Regions from separate parts of the Homo sapiens genome. Here all the other regions are linked to region 2. The links are contacts of gene promoters, found by promoter capture Hi-C in human tissues and cell types (Jung and others, 2019). All regions are on one chromosome and are shown on one strand. Each heading gives the region's core, a stretch centred on a gene start or on the middle of the fragment in contact. The rest is flanking DNA. Distances are from core to core; before and after follow the strand shown. Region 1 has its middle 48 kb from the start of HSD17B3-AS1. Region 2 holds the start of CDC14B (cell division cycle 14B). Region 3 overlaps HSD17B3 (hydroxysteroid 17-beta dehydrogenase 3).

Region 1 (3,934 bases), core at 304-2,803, 420 kb before region 2:
TTCCAAGCTAGTGCTGTTACTTCTAATGCATTATTTTTATTTATTTTATTTTATTTTTTATTTTATTTTATTTTTACTTTTGTAGAGACAGGATCTTGTTATGTTGCCCAGGCTGGTCTCGAACTCCTGGCTTCAAGCAATCCTCCCACCTTGGCCTCCCAAAGTGCTGGGATTATAGGTGTGAGTCAACATGCCCAGCCCACTGCATTCTTTTAGATATAATGAAGTCATATGGCCAGTCCAGATTCAAGGGCAAGGAATCAGACTCCACTTCTCAATGGGAAATAGCAAGGTCACATTGTGGAGGAGTGGGTAGAAGGATCACCTTTGGAAAATACAGCCTGCCACATGCAGGACAGAGGACAGCCAGGAAGGGGCACAGAGGTTTTCTTGAAGGGAATGATAATACACATGACCATGACATCTAACTGGAGAATGAGTTAGGGGAAGCCTTTGACAGGCAAAGTGTAGGGTTTAGTGGGTTACAGCCTTTGATGAGATTGAGGAATCTTAGCAGCCAGGAGACTAGAACAACAGGGAGTGCTTGTCAGAGAATGGAATGCTTGAAAATGAGATTTGGATAAAATGACTTCTGTGAATGATGAGACTCAGTGTGTGACCACGGAAGTGGATGGTTGCAGTGGAGGGGAAAAAGGGTCCTTAGTGCTACAATGTCAAGGACAAATAGCCAAGGAGGTGGATGGGTGCTCTACTTGGATATTGAACTCCCTGTGATTGAGGACATGAGTGGGGGTGAAGAGGGAGGTCAGGCGCTGAAGTCTGTAACCAAGAGGAACCAAGAAGCCAGGCCCAGGAGTCACCATGAGGCTGGCCGGTGCATGGCTAGATAGCTTGGTTTTTGGCCAGGAGAGGGATAGAGACGGTCTAGAAACAGAAATCAGGGATAGGGAGGCCACTCAGCTCCACTGTCAGTCACAAGGGCCTCCACTCCAGCCAGCAGGAGGCTCAGTGCTCAGGGGTAGGCCAGGTCCCACAAATGCCACACTCAACAAGGACGTGAGGAGTGGATTGAGGGTTTGGGGAAATTGGTGTATCACAGACTGCAAGCCTCGCAGAGACTGGGGGAGGGCTGGGAAAAGAAGTCAGAGAGCTGGACGCAGTGGCTCATGCCTGTAATCCCAGCACTTTGGGAGGCCGAGGCATGAGGATTGCCTGAGTCCAGGAGTTCAAGACCAGCCTGGGCAACATGGCGAAACCCATCTCTACTAAAAATACAAAAATTAGCCTGGTGTAGTGGCGGGTGCCTGTAGTCCCAGCTGCTCAGGAGGCTGAGGTGGGAGAATCACCTGAGCCTGACAGGTCGAGCTTACAGTGAACAAAGATAGTACCACTGCCTTGCCATAGCCTGGGCAACAGAGTGAGAGTCTGTCACAAATTAAAGAAAAAAGTGGGGTGGGGGGACGCAGAGGAGCCACAAGGGGCTGGGCCAGGCCAGGAAGCCTGAGGGTGACTGCAGAGGCTGCCGTGCAAGAGCTAGACAGAAACCGGAGGCAGCCAGAATTTGCCCCGACAAATTCTGGAGCTGGAAAGAAGAGAAAATCAAACCTGCAGCCCGGAATACCTTCCTCTGAGGAAGTCTGCTTTCTCCCAAGGCCACACGGGAAGCATCGCGGTGACCGCCAGCCTCTCTCCAGAATGCAGGCAGAGCTCCTAAGGGGAACCTACTCCCTAGCCTAGTTTTCTCTTCTCCCAAAATATCTGTCCCTCTCTTCAGATGAGGAAGCCCAGGGCTTTGGGCTCCTCTGTCTTCCTCCTGCTGAGAGGCTCTGCTCAGGAGACTAGTGGGCTCGGGGCTTGCCTTTGACTTCAGAGGGAGCCGAGTGGAACGTGGCTGCTTCTATCCAGCTGTGGCCAGCTTGCTCCAAAAACAGCCAGAAGCAAACATCACACCACGGGAGGCCTGATTTCATTCCTAAGATGCTCCTTTCTTATCTGTATGAGAGATCACATCCCTTCTACTACTGTGATGTTGGCCATATTTCCTAGGAAATAATAAGCTTGGCATCATTTTGCTAAGGACACATCCATGGCCTCCCTGCCCTGGGTTACATCACAAAGTGTCCTCATCAGAACTGTCCTCATTCATTCATTCGTCCAACAATACTTAATGGGCACCTGCTACATGCCAGGCCTTGTCCTAAGTGCTGGGGAGATGCAGTGAACAAAATGGAGAAAAAAAACAAAAACAGACAAAAAACCTCCACCCTGGTGGAGCTTATACTCTAATGAAGGAAGGTGGCAAGTACTTTTAAAATAATAACAAAACAAAGTAAGGAGGACAACAGCATGTTAGCAGGTGACAAGTGCTAAGGAGAAAACAGGGCAGGGGCAGGAGAGTGGGAGTGAGTGTGTGTGCCTGGGAAGGCAAAGCCTGGAAGAACATGCTCCAGCATGACCAATCCACTCCTGTAGAGGCCTTCAGCCCCTCTCCTGGTGGCACCCTGAGAGAAGGATGAAGTTCCCATCCACACCAGCCCCTCTCACCCTCCAGACAGGAGCCGGCTGGGGCAGCAATCGCAGCTGCCCTGTTTTCTCATGAAGGAGGCACCATCTCCGGCTGCTCACCCTGCCCAAGGGTCCTGCTTCTCCCACCGCCCTGCCTTCTAACAGCCACCCCCTGAGCCACCTGTGCACATTGCTCATGAGCTCTGGGTCCAGGAAGGAGGGATAGAGGAAAGCCTTCCTCCCTAAGGCTTCCTGCCATGGCCTCCTTCTTGTGGCTGGGCCTTCCTGCAAAGCTTCCTTCTGTCACTCACACGCATTTCCTCAGGTTTACTCGGTGCCCCTCATCTTCCCATCTTCTCACTCCCAGGACAATTTCCTGTCTGTCTGTTCCTTACAGGCAGCCGTGCGCTGTTGGGTAGAGGGGTGAGCCAGTGAGGCATCCTGATGTCACCTATGTGCTGGCTCTCTTTAACATGCTGGGCAAGTCCTTTCACTTCCTTCTGTTCCACTCAGCTGGGAGGCTGGATGGCTGAGCAACACTCCCGACAGACCAGAAATAACATCATCTCCAAGCAGAACCTTCCTGGACTAATATATTTTACCAAAAAGAGAGATCTTTAATTACCAGTAAAAACATCTTGTGTCAATCACTGATGTGAAGGAGCTGCCTCATGAAAAGCTGAACTCATTCTTTAGGGAGAAGAAAAATCACCAGAAAGAAATGAGAGTGTGTCAGAGGCAGCAAGAAGAGCTCTTAGGAAGCCAAGTTGAGACAGAGAGTGCATGAGTGAAGAAGAGGCAATGTCATCATGGGCAGAAAATAAAGGGAAGACAGGAGATGCAAGTAAACATGAAACACAGAAGTTAACACAGGAGCTGAAGAGAAAAGCTGAAAGAAAATTGAGGAATAAATGTGTAACCATTCCTTTCCTTCAGCAATTGGAATACGTGACGTGCAGAGCAAACCAGGCTCAGACTAGCTGCTCCCAGCCGTGGCATTCACAGAAGAGGACTTCCTGGTTGGGCTCATCTATTCAGTAGTTCAATATCAGTCCCAAAGGAATCTGTTAAGGTAAATGATGACAACTGCAAAAGAGTGAATATAGCACGCTACCATTTGTGTTCTTCCATACGTAGACACGGACACCCATGCACACATGCACATGTGTCTGTGTGGATGCAGGTCATATCTGGTTGGAGAGCAAGGTGACTGATGGAGGCTGGTTGGAGACAGCAGTAGGAAGGTAACTGACTGTTTACTGTATGCCCTTTTAAATATTGTATATGGGTCGGGTGCAGTGGCTCATGCCTGTAATCCCAGCACTTTGGGAGGCTGAGGCAGGCGGATAACCTGAGGTCAGGAGTTTGAGACTAGCCTGGCCAACATGATGAAACCTCATCTCTACTAAAAATACAAAAGTTAGCCGGACGTGATGGCGCACGCCTGTAATCCCAGCTACTCGGGAAG
Region 2 (4,545 bases), core at 117-2,616:
GAAGGGCTGCTTGGCTACCTGCTCTGGCTGGCTGGGATTTCTCAAAAGTGACAACCCGGACATTCGTCTTGCCGGCTGGCTCGAATGCCACCAACGTGACACCTTCCTTCTCGAGGCCCCGGCGGGGAGCGGACCCCGGGAGGCGGAGGCGTTCGGGGGGCGCGCTAGGGGGCAGGGCGCGGGAGGCCCAGGAGAGGGGCTCGGGCTTACGCGCCGGACGGGCAACGCGGCGCCCAGGGTCCCAAGGCTACGGAGCAGCGGGGGTTTGGCCAACGCCAAAAAGGGGCAGCTCCCGTGCCAGGCGCGTTCAGCGCGCTCGGGGAATCCTCAGGGGCTGATTCAGAGGTTGTGACTCGCGCGAGGGCCAACCGGGCTCGCAATCCCTGAAGGCGGAATCCACAGGAACTCAGAAGCAGCCCGCGGGGAGGAGCTGCAGGTTCGAGGCGCCGGGCTGACGCCCGCAACTTAGAAAGGTGACCCTCGGTCCATCTTGCTGGTGGAGGAGGGTGCACAAGCTAAAGTTAAAGCTCGCAGCCCACGCAGCTAGAAACTCGGGGCGGGGGGCGCTCCTCAGGAGCCAGGCTCCTAAAGGGGGTGTGGCGGCCGGGGCGTTTAAGGGGGTGGGGGCGAAGGCATTTCGGCCCGGCCCCGGAGGCCCCGGGCAGCCCGGTGGGAGGTGGGCCAGGGCCCCGCGCCGGGTGCGGCCGTCCGGGGCCCTCCGCGCGCCCACTGGCCGGCTCACCGGTGATGTCCAGGTACACGTCGTCCTGGGGGTCCCGGCGGCGCGGGTCTTGCTGCGTGGAGCTGCGGATCTTCTTCACACCCGGCGAGGTCGACGAGCAGCGCCGCGAGCAGGGGGGCGCGGCGGCCCAGCTCGACCGCCGCTCGCTTTTCCGCTTCATGGAGGCGGCCGCGGCCCGTCAGGGGGCCACGACCATGGCCCCGCGCGCCCGCGCGCCCGCCGAGGCTCCCGCCAGCCCCGCGCGGGCGCTCGGGGCGGCGGGCGCAGAGCGGCGCTGCGGGGACGGCGGGCGCCGGCAGAGCCCGGCGGGAGGCGGTCGCGCAGGAGCCGGAGGAGGAGCCCGGCCCACAGCGCCTGCCCCGCTGCCTCCCGCGGCCGCCGCAGGACCGGCGCCGCAGCCCTCGCTACAGCGCCTCCTGCCGCGGCCGGCGCCCCCAGCCCGCCCCCAGGTGCCCGCAGCCGGCTGGCGCGGCCGAGGCGACGGGGCTGCAGCTGGCGGCCGGAGCTGCCCGGGGTAACCGTGCGTGCCCACCGCGGCCGCGGCCGCTGCTGCGTAGGCGCCGGGGCACAGCAGGACGCGGCTCGTGGGGACCCCAGGAGGGCTGTTCCGTGGCGCTTCATTCACAAAAAAGGGCCCACAACCCTCCTCGGGGCCCGCAGACTGAGGCCTTTCATTGGCCAATGCGGCGTGACGTCACGGAGACGGGGCCTTTCTACAGGCAGGTACTCGGTGACGCCATAAAGAAAACTCTGAGGGCTTCCGCCAATCAGAGATAAAGTGTGCTAGCGACCTTCGCCAGCCCCCCAACTTTTGTTTCTTCTGTGTCCTCCAGGTGCCAGCACCCCAGATCCCAACTTTCTTTAGTGAGTCACCAAACATTTACACAGCCCCACCCTAGTAACTTAACTCCAGGTCTTTGGCATATATATATCTTAAAGTATTTCTTGAATTTCCTTGTAATTCGCGCCAAGAGAAAGGGACTTTTGCCATGGCTGCCAGCTTGGAAGAGGATGGCCTGATTACATTACCTGCAGCTATATAGATTTAAAGTAGAGTTGATTTCAGAACTTAAGTAAAACTATTTAAACAACTACGCTCTATTTATCGACCTATGCCCAGCATTCAAACAGGCCAAGCAAGGGCTTCTTAAGGACCCGATGAAACTTCCGTGGAACCACAATATACCGTGGTTGTTTGCACCTCAGAGTTTCTCATCTCGGAATCCAGCGCCCACATTAATTCAGTAAGTTTATACACTCATTGCTGTGTATACTGAGGTGTCGACAGGTCCGATTATATCATGAAGTATTGAAGCAAGGGGCAAGTTTTGTCCTTAAACTTCTTTATCTGGCACACTGTAGGGTCATATCCTCTTCTTTTTCTACTGGATTAAAATAATGCCCTATCTTCCTGGAACTTAACCAAAAACTGTCATTTTGGAGGGCCTTTAAACAAACGTCCATGGTAGCATCTAAAAGGGTGAGAAGATTGGAGGGCAGTGTTAAGATTTCACGGCCCCAAATTTTACAACATCTGCAAGCTGTCCCTATTTTTCACCAGCACTTGAACGTTTTATCCTGCAGTTCCGCAGTTAACTGCCAGCCTGGGGAAAAGAAAGATGAATTTGAGTCAGTCCCCTTGGAAGCCTCTCAGAAATGCAAATTTTCATAGAGCACCTCAGGAAGGGGCTCTTTGACTTCTATTGTTGTGGGCTTTTACCTTAAGCACGGCTAAATAAGGAAGTAGGGGGGCTGTGTCTGAAGCTAGAGATCAGCAACTCTGTAAGCACTTTTTCTTAAGGTTGGTTCTCCTGTTCACTCTTCCTCTGTTTCCCCTAAGGAAATCAGTGAAGGCCTTAAATTTAAAATGATCTACATGTCTGTCTGTAGGGGCAGCAAAGAAGCTAGAGACGTGGGAGGCTGTGCGGCGCTGCGCAAGTAAGTTTTAGAGAGCAGAAACGGTAGGGTCACAGTCCTTTGTTTTGACCTGGAGGAGGAGGAGGAGACCTTTCAGACCGGCCTAGGGGCTCAGCATTGGAAAGCCACCCAGTTTCCCAGACTACCAGGGATTTTAAATGAGTGGGTCTTGTTTTGAATAGATATTACAGGAGAGTGGTCCGTGTGGCTCCCTGGAAGTACAGAGAAACTACCTCCATGACATTATGATCTTTTGAGAGTAATTTGTTTAAATGTCAGGAGGCAGAGGTTGCAGTGAGCCGAGATCGTGCCATTGCACTCCAGCCTGGGTGACAGAGCTAGACTCCGTCTCAGAAAAAAAAAAAAAAAAGTGTCATAAATACAGATAATTATACCATTTAAATATTTTCATACTTTGCAAGTATATAATTTTATGCTTTGTATAGTAGGAACAGACAAAGTATAGGACTACACTTTGTAATTACGCGAAAGTATCTTCCCTTCTTGTGAATAGGAAGTCTGTGTGCTGAGTATACACATTAAAGTTTTAAACCCTATTTATATTTTGTTTTTAGGTCATGTTTAGATAGAGGCAGAAAAGTGCTGTTTCCTAGCTGATACTTGTTTTGTGTGTGTGGCACTGCTCTTGAACTGTTTGACTCCTCCCCCTCTTTGATAAGTTGACTCCTGGGCTCTGAGAATTTGGCCACAGGAAATGTATTTTAGTTTGCTTCCCTGGTTAGTTTGTTGTTCATTGCTTGACGACTCATCATAGAATTTTAGAGCTTGAAAGCTCCTTAGACAATATTTGGTCCAAGGCTATCCTTTCACAGTGAGGACACGGGGACCCAGATGAGTGGCAGTGGCCAGGCTGGGGTGGGAACCAAAACTCTCTAGGATCTGGCTTGTCTTTTCCTGAACTGTGGCGCTTAGGGAACAGATGCGTCTGGTTGATTCTCAACATTATGGCAGCACAATGAAAAGGAAAAAAAAAAAAAAAAGGAGGGATTCTCTAAAATATTCCTATCTTTCCTAGGTAAATTTACCCTGAAATGAAAACAACTGTGGAACATTTTCTTTTTTTTTCTTTTCTTTTCTTTTTTTTGAGACGAAGTCTCGCTCTGTCGCCCAGACTGGAGTGCAGTGGCGCGATCTCGGCTCACTGCAAGCTCCGCCTCCCGGGTTCACGCCATTCTCCTGCCTCAGCCTCCCAAGTAGCTGGGACTACAGGCGCCTGCCACCACGCCCGGCTAATTTTTTGTATTTTTAGTAGAGACGAGGTTTCACCGTGTTAGCCAGGATAGTTTCGATCTCCTACCTTGTGATCCGCCCTCCTCGGCCTCCCAAAGTGCTGGGATTACAGGCATGAGCCACCGCGCCCGGCGGAACATTTTCTTATATGTATATTCCAGATAGAGCATATTCTGAAAATGTGAAATCTTACGCTAAAATCAGTAGCAACTGGTTGATAGAGACGTGATATGAATTTCAAATAATGTAAGTTTCAGAATCCGTGAATTACAATTTTAATTATGTGAAGATAAATAAGTTGTACAAAGTCAATTTCCATAAGTTGGTTAATTTCATAAAAAGTTAAATTTGATAAATATGGTACGTTCCATAAGAGGTTAAATTTCCATAAAACTAGAGGGCTTAGGTGGCAGTCATATGGGAAAACGGGCACACACTGAAGTCTTCACTTTCATATATAAAAAGAGTTGGTTTTGGCCGGGCGTGGTGGCTCACATCTGTAATCCCCGCACTTTGGGAGGCTGAGGCGGGCAGATCACCTGAGGTCAGGAGTTCAAGACCAGCCTGGTCAACATGGGGAAACCCTGTCTCTATTAAAAATACAAAAATAAGCTGGGCGTGGTGACACGTGCCTG
Region 3 (4,569 bases), core at 90-2,589, 330 kb before region 2:
AGTTTTAAAAAGTCAATTATATTCACTCTCACAGGTGATTTTCAGCCATGACTCTGGAGAGCTGAAGGTGTTAACACCACAAAGGTATTGTCACAAGTTCCCCCCAACCTGCAATCTCCACAGTGAGGTTTCACTCCATTAAAAAGACAAGCAATTAGGCCAAGTGAGATAGCTCATTTCTGTAATCCTAGAGCCTTGGGAGGCCGAGGCAGGAGGATCACTTGAGGCCAGGAGTTCAAGACCAACCCAGGCAACACAGCAAGACACCCCCACCACCACCACCATCTCTACAAAAATTAAAATTAAAAAATTAGGCCAGGCTCGGTGGCTCATGCGTGTAATCCCAGCACTTTGGGAGGCCCAGGCCGCAGGATCACAAGGTCAGGACATCGAGACCATCCTGGCTAACATGTTGAAACCCCATCTCTACTAAAAATACAAAAAAAATTAGCCAGGCGTGGTGTGGGCGCCTGTAGTCCCAGCTACTGAGGAGGCTGAGGCAGGAGAATGGCGTGAACCCGGGAGGCGGAGCTCGCAATGAGCCGAAATTGCGCCACTGCACTCCAGCCTGGGTGACTGAGCAAGACTCCGTCTCAAAAAAAAAAAAAAAATTAAAAAATTAGCCGAGCATGGTGGCACAGCCTGTAGTCCCAGCTGCTCAGGAGGCTGAGGTGAGAGGGTCACTTGAGCCCAGGAGGTCAAGAATGCAATGAGCCGTGATCCCACCACTGCACTCCAGCCTGGATGACAGAGCAAGACCCTATCCCTAAAAAAAAACAAAAACAGAAAAAAAAAAGATAGGCAGTCACTAGATGCTGCATCAATTGTTTCTTTAAACAGTTGATTTCCTGGTGTGTGTGTGTGTGTGTGTGTGTGTGTATGTGTGTGTGTATGGAAGTGGGTAATGGGGGAGACTGCGTGTGTGGGGGCAGAAGGCCTATGGGAAACCTCTATACCATCTGCTCAATTTTTCTATGAACCTATAATTGCTCTAAAAAATAAAGTCCATTAAAAATGTTTTTTCATTTTAAAAAGAACACTAAACCAAGGACAGTCCTATTTCAAGACTGACCCCTGCCAATGACATCCCCAAGTCTTCTCTCTTGTTCTCTCCATGGAAAATTCCCTACCCCCACCTCTAGCCTCCATTTTTGAGTCTTGGAATCCATCAACAGGATGGCTAAAGAATTAAGCACCTTTGTCTCCCAATTCACTTCATCAGCCTCCTGAAGAGGAGATTGCCCAATAAATGAAAGTCCATTTGCATTTTCAGCACAAAGGATGCTCTTTGCCTGGTGGGCTTGTTTCTCTCAAGAGCCACAGGCCTTTTAGAGGTTCCATGTGAAGTGGTCTGGGCCAAGAGGGGGGCGCCCGAGAACACTTGGTTGTCTGGGCTGGCATTGTTCCCTTTGTCTGCTTGAACAGGACTCAATCTTATTTCCAGAATGTCCAGGCTGACAGGCTCCATACACAGGTTTTGCCACCCCCTTTTCAGAAAGTTAAGCTGCAAAAGCCTCCCTTTCCCAGAATTCACTGCCGGGGCCCCATCCTGATGCAGAACGGCTGCCGTGGGATGAATGGGCCTTGTTTTCCTTCTCCTGTATGTTGGGGCCTGGGTCAAGGAAGGTGCTTGTAGCTGCTAATCTACAGCGGGTAGTGGGAATGCCAGGAAAAACAGGGCTTCCTCTGTGTGGCCAAGAATAAAAGAAAGGGCTTGAATTCAGGTGCTACAGGAGTGGAAACGGTGTGAAAAATAGGGTGAGCAGTGGCTTCAGAGGTATGGAAGAGTGGGCCCACTCTCTTCCTCCCTCCACCCCAGGCCCATCCCTCTCCACAATTTTTTCCCACCTGCCTCAAGTAATGCTTGAAATTCTTTTAACAGGAAGCAAAGCCTCTCCTGCCACTCTAAATGTAAACGCAGATTCGGTTAAATGCAGTGAAGAATAAGCTTCTGGAAGGGCGGAGGAGAAGTGCTTTCCCTATTCCCACCATTAAGTCCATCAAAAAAAACCTGGACACAATACATAAAACAAAGAGAAGAAGACTCCAGATGTGAGAGGAGGTTCATTTAGGGGCCTCGGAACCTGAGGAAGGGCACTGTGGTATTTCCTGGGCTTTTTTTTTTTTTTTTTTTTTTTCCACATATCCCAGACATTGCTGGAGAAACTGGCAGTTTAGAAATGCCAACAGATGCAGTTATTAAAAAGTCTCGCTGGGCACAGTGGCTCACACCTGTAATCCCAGCACTTTCGGATGCCAAGGCAGGTGGATCACCTGAGGTCAGGAGTTTGAGACCAGCCTGGCCAACATGGTGAAACCCCATCTCTACTAAAAATACAAAAATTAGCCAGGCATGGTGGCGGGTGCCTGTAATCCCAGCTACTCGGGAGGCTGAGGCAGGAGAATCACTTGAAACCAGAAGGCAAAGTTTGCAGTAAGCCGAGATCGCGCCACTGCACTCCAGTTTGTGTGACAGAGTGAGACCGGGCAAAAGAACGAAACTCTGTCTCAAAAAAAAAAAGTCTCAACAAAAGCCTGCCCTCTCTAACTAGAGGACCAGAAAAGGGGATGTCTAGTGAGACAGAAAACATTTAGACAGCAACTGTCTACTCCAAGCAAACACCTTGGGAAAAACTATGACCCCACCCACACCCCTGCCAGTAAAGGCTGGGTGGGGAGCTGGGTCTTCCACGCTGGTGAGGCTCTGTAGCAAGGATCCTGGGACTTTCATTGCAGCTGCCACCATCCCCGCGAATGTCTGTGGAGATCTGAATTCCACCCCCACCTGGCAGTAACAAGGCACCTCTTCCCCTCTTTGTCCTCTTCCTTTGCCAGGGATGATAACAGAGGAGGCCTCATGGAGAGCCAGGACTTTCACCACTGCCCAGTGGAACGAGGCCACCTCTCCCAAGTGTCATCGGAGGCCTTGTGGAGAGCAGTAAAGAAGTGTTTCTGCCCCTCCCAGCCAGAGTGGTATCAGCAGAGGCCCAGGAAGAAGCCAGAACCCCACCCCCACCCAACAGTAAGAAGTAGGCAGCTCTCCACAAGTGGAGAATTGAGCCCCCACTCCACCTGGTAGAAACTAGTCAGTTCCCCCTCCTCTCCCTCCCACAGCAATGTCAGTATGGACCAATATAAACCAAAGATTTAAATAAGATCCAGAGTCCCATAACGTAAAACCAAAATGTTGAGGATTCAGTCAAAAGCCACCCATCATTCAAAGAACCAAGATCTTAATCTGAATGAGAAAATACTAACAACAGATGCCAACATAGAGATGACACAGACATTAGAATTATCTGACAAGGTTTGGAGCATAAAAATGCTTCAGTAGGCTGGGTGATGTGGCTCATGCCTGTAATCCCAGCACTTTGGGATGCCACAGCAAGCGGATCACTTGAGGTCAGGAGTTTGAGACCAGCCTGGCCAACGAGGTGAAACCCCGTCTCTATTAAAAATACAAAAATTAGCTGGGCGTGGTGGTGGGCACCTGTAATCCCAGCTACTTGGGAGGCTGAGGCAGGAGAATCACTTGAACCCGGGAGGCAGAGGTTGCAGTGAACCAAGATCGCACCATTGCACTCCAGCCTAGGTGACAGAGTGAGACACCATCTCAAAAAAAGAAAAAAAAAAGTTCAATAAACCATTATAAACACACAAAACAAATGGCAAAAATAGAAAAATCTCTGCAAAGAAATAGAAGATGTAAGGAAGAACCACATGAAAATACTTGAACTGAAAAATATAATCACTAAAGTTAAAACCTTGATGGATGGGCTCAGTAGCAGAAAGAGTGGGACTAAGAAAAGAATCAATGAACTTGAAGATTAAAAAAAAAGCAATTACCCAATATAAGCAACAGAGAAAAAATACACTGAAAAAATTGAACAGAATCTCAAGGGCCCATTGAACTATAAAAAGGTCTAATATTCATGTCCATTGGAGTGTTACAAGGAGAGAAGAGGGCAGGGCTGAAAAAGTATTTGAATAAATAATGGATGAAAGTTTTTGAAATTTGTTTTTATTGATTTATTTATTTTTTGAGATGGAGTCTCACTCTTGTCACCTAAGCTGGAGTGCAATGGCACAATCTTTGCCTCCTGGATTCAAGCAGTTCTGCCTCAGCCTCCCAAGTAGCTGGGATTACAGGTGCCCACCATCATGCCCAGCTAATTTTTGTATTTTCCGTAGAGACAGGGTTTCACCATGTTGGCCAGGGTGGTCTTGAACTCCTGACCTCAGGTGATCCATCCGCCTCAGCCTCCCAAAATGCTGGGATTACAGGCAGGAGCCACCACACCGGGCCCAAATTTGTGAAAAGATGTAAACCTACAGATTCAAGAGGCTGAGTAAACCCCAAACGGGTAAAACCAAAGAAATCCATGCCAAGAATCATTGTATTTAAACTTTTGAAAAATAAAGACAAAGAAAAAATTTTGAAAGCCAAGAGAGAAACACTCCCCTGTTTATTGGGGAAAAGCAATTCAAATAATATCAGATTTCTCATAAGAAGCCGCAGAGGCCAGAAGGAAGTGCCACAGTATTTTTCAAGTGCTGAAAGAAAAGGAC

The links. The method cuts DNA at HindIII sites, captures the fragments that hold promoters and counts their contacts. A contact is called where the count stands out against the background at its distance.
Region 1: a contact is called between a fragment that was not itself captured here and the fragment with the promoter of CDC14B in region 2, in 1 of the 25 tissues and cell types used here (dorsolateral prefrontal cortex).
Region 3: a contact is called between a fragment that was not itself captured here and the fragment with the promoter of CDC14B in region 2, in 2 of the 25 tissues and cell types used here (hippocampus and mesendoderm cells).

What each region holds. Positions count from the first base shown.
Region 1 is chr9:96,196,271-96,200,204 of GRCh38, forward strand. No RefSeq gene overlaps it. Among named protein-coding and RNA genes, the nearest start is that of HSD17B3-AS1, 48 kb to the right of the region's middle. The HindIII fragment of the contact is 4,301 bases long and covers 1-3,704 here.
Region 2 is chr9:96,618,477-96,623,021 of GRCh38, forward strand. It overlaps CDC14B (cell division cycle 14B), which reads right to left and starts at 1,367. Exons shown (of 14, transcript NM_033331.4): 1 at 743-1,367. The coding sequence starts at 902. RefSeq lists an enhancer at 518-1,018. The HindIII fragment of the contact is 32,033 bases long and covers 1-4,545 here.
Region 3 is chr9:96,288,342-96,292,910 of GRCh38, forward strand. All of the region lies in intron 2 of HSD17B3 (hydroxysteroid 17-beta dehydrogenase 3), which reads right to left. All of the region lies in intron 17 of SLC35D2-HSD17B3 (SLC35D2-HSD17B3 readthrough), which reads right to left. Among named protein-coding and RNA genes, the nearest start is that of HSD17B3, 12 kb to the right of the region's middle. RefSeq lists an enhancer at 936-1,486. The HindIII fragment of the contact is 4,737 bases long and covers 1-3,708 here.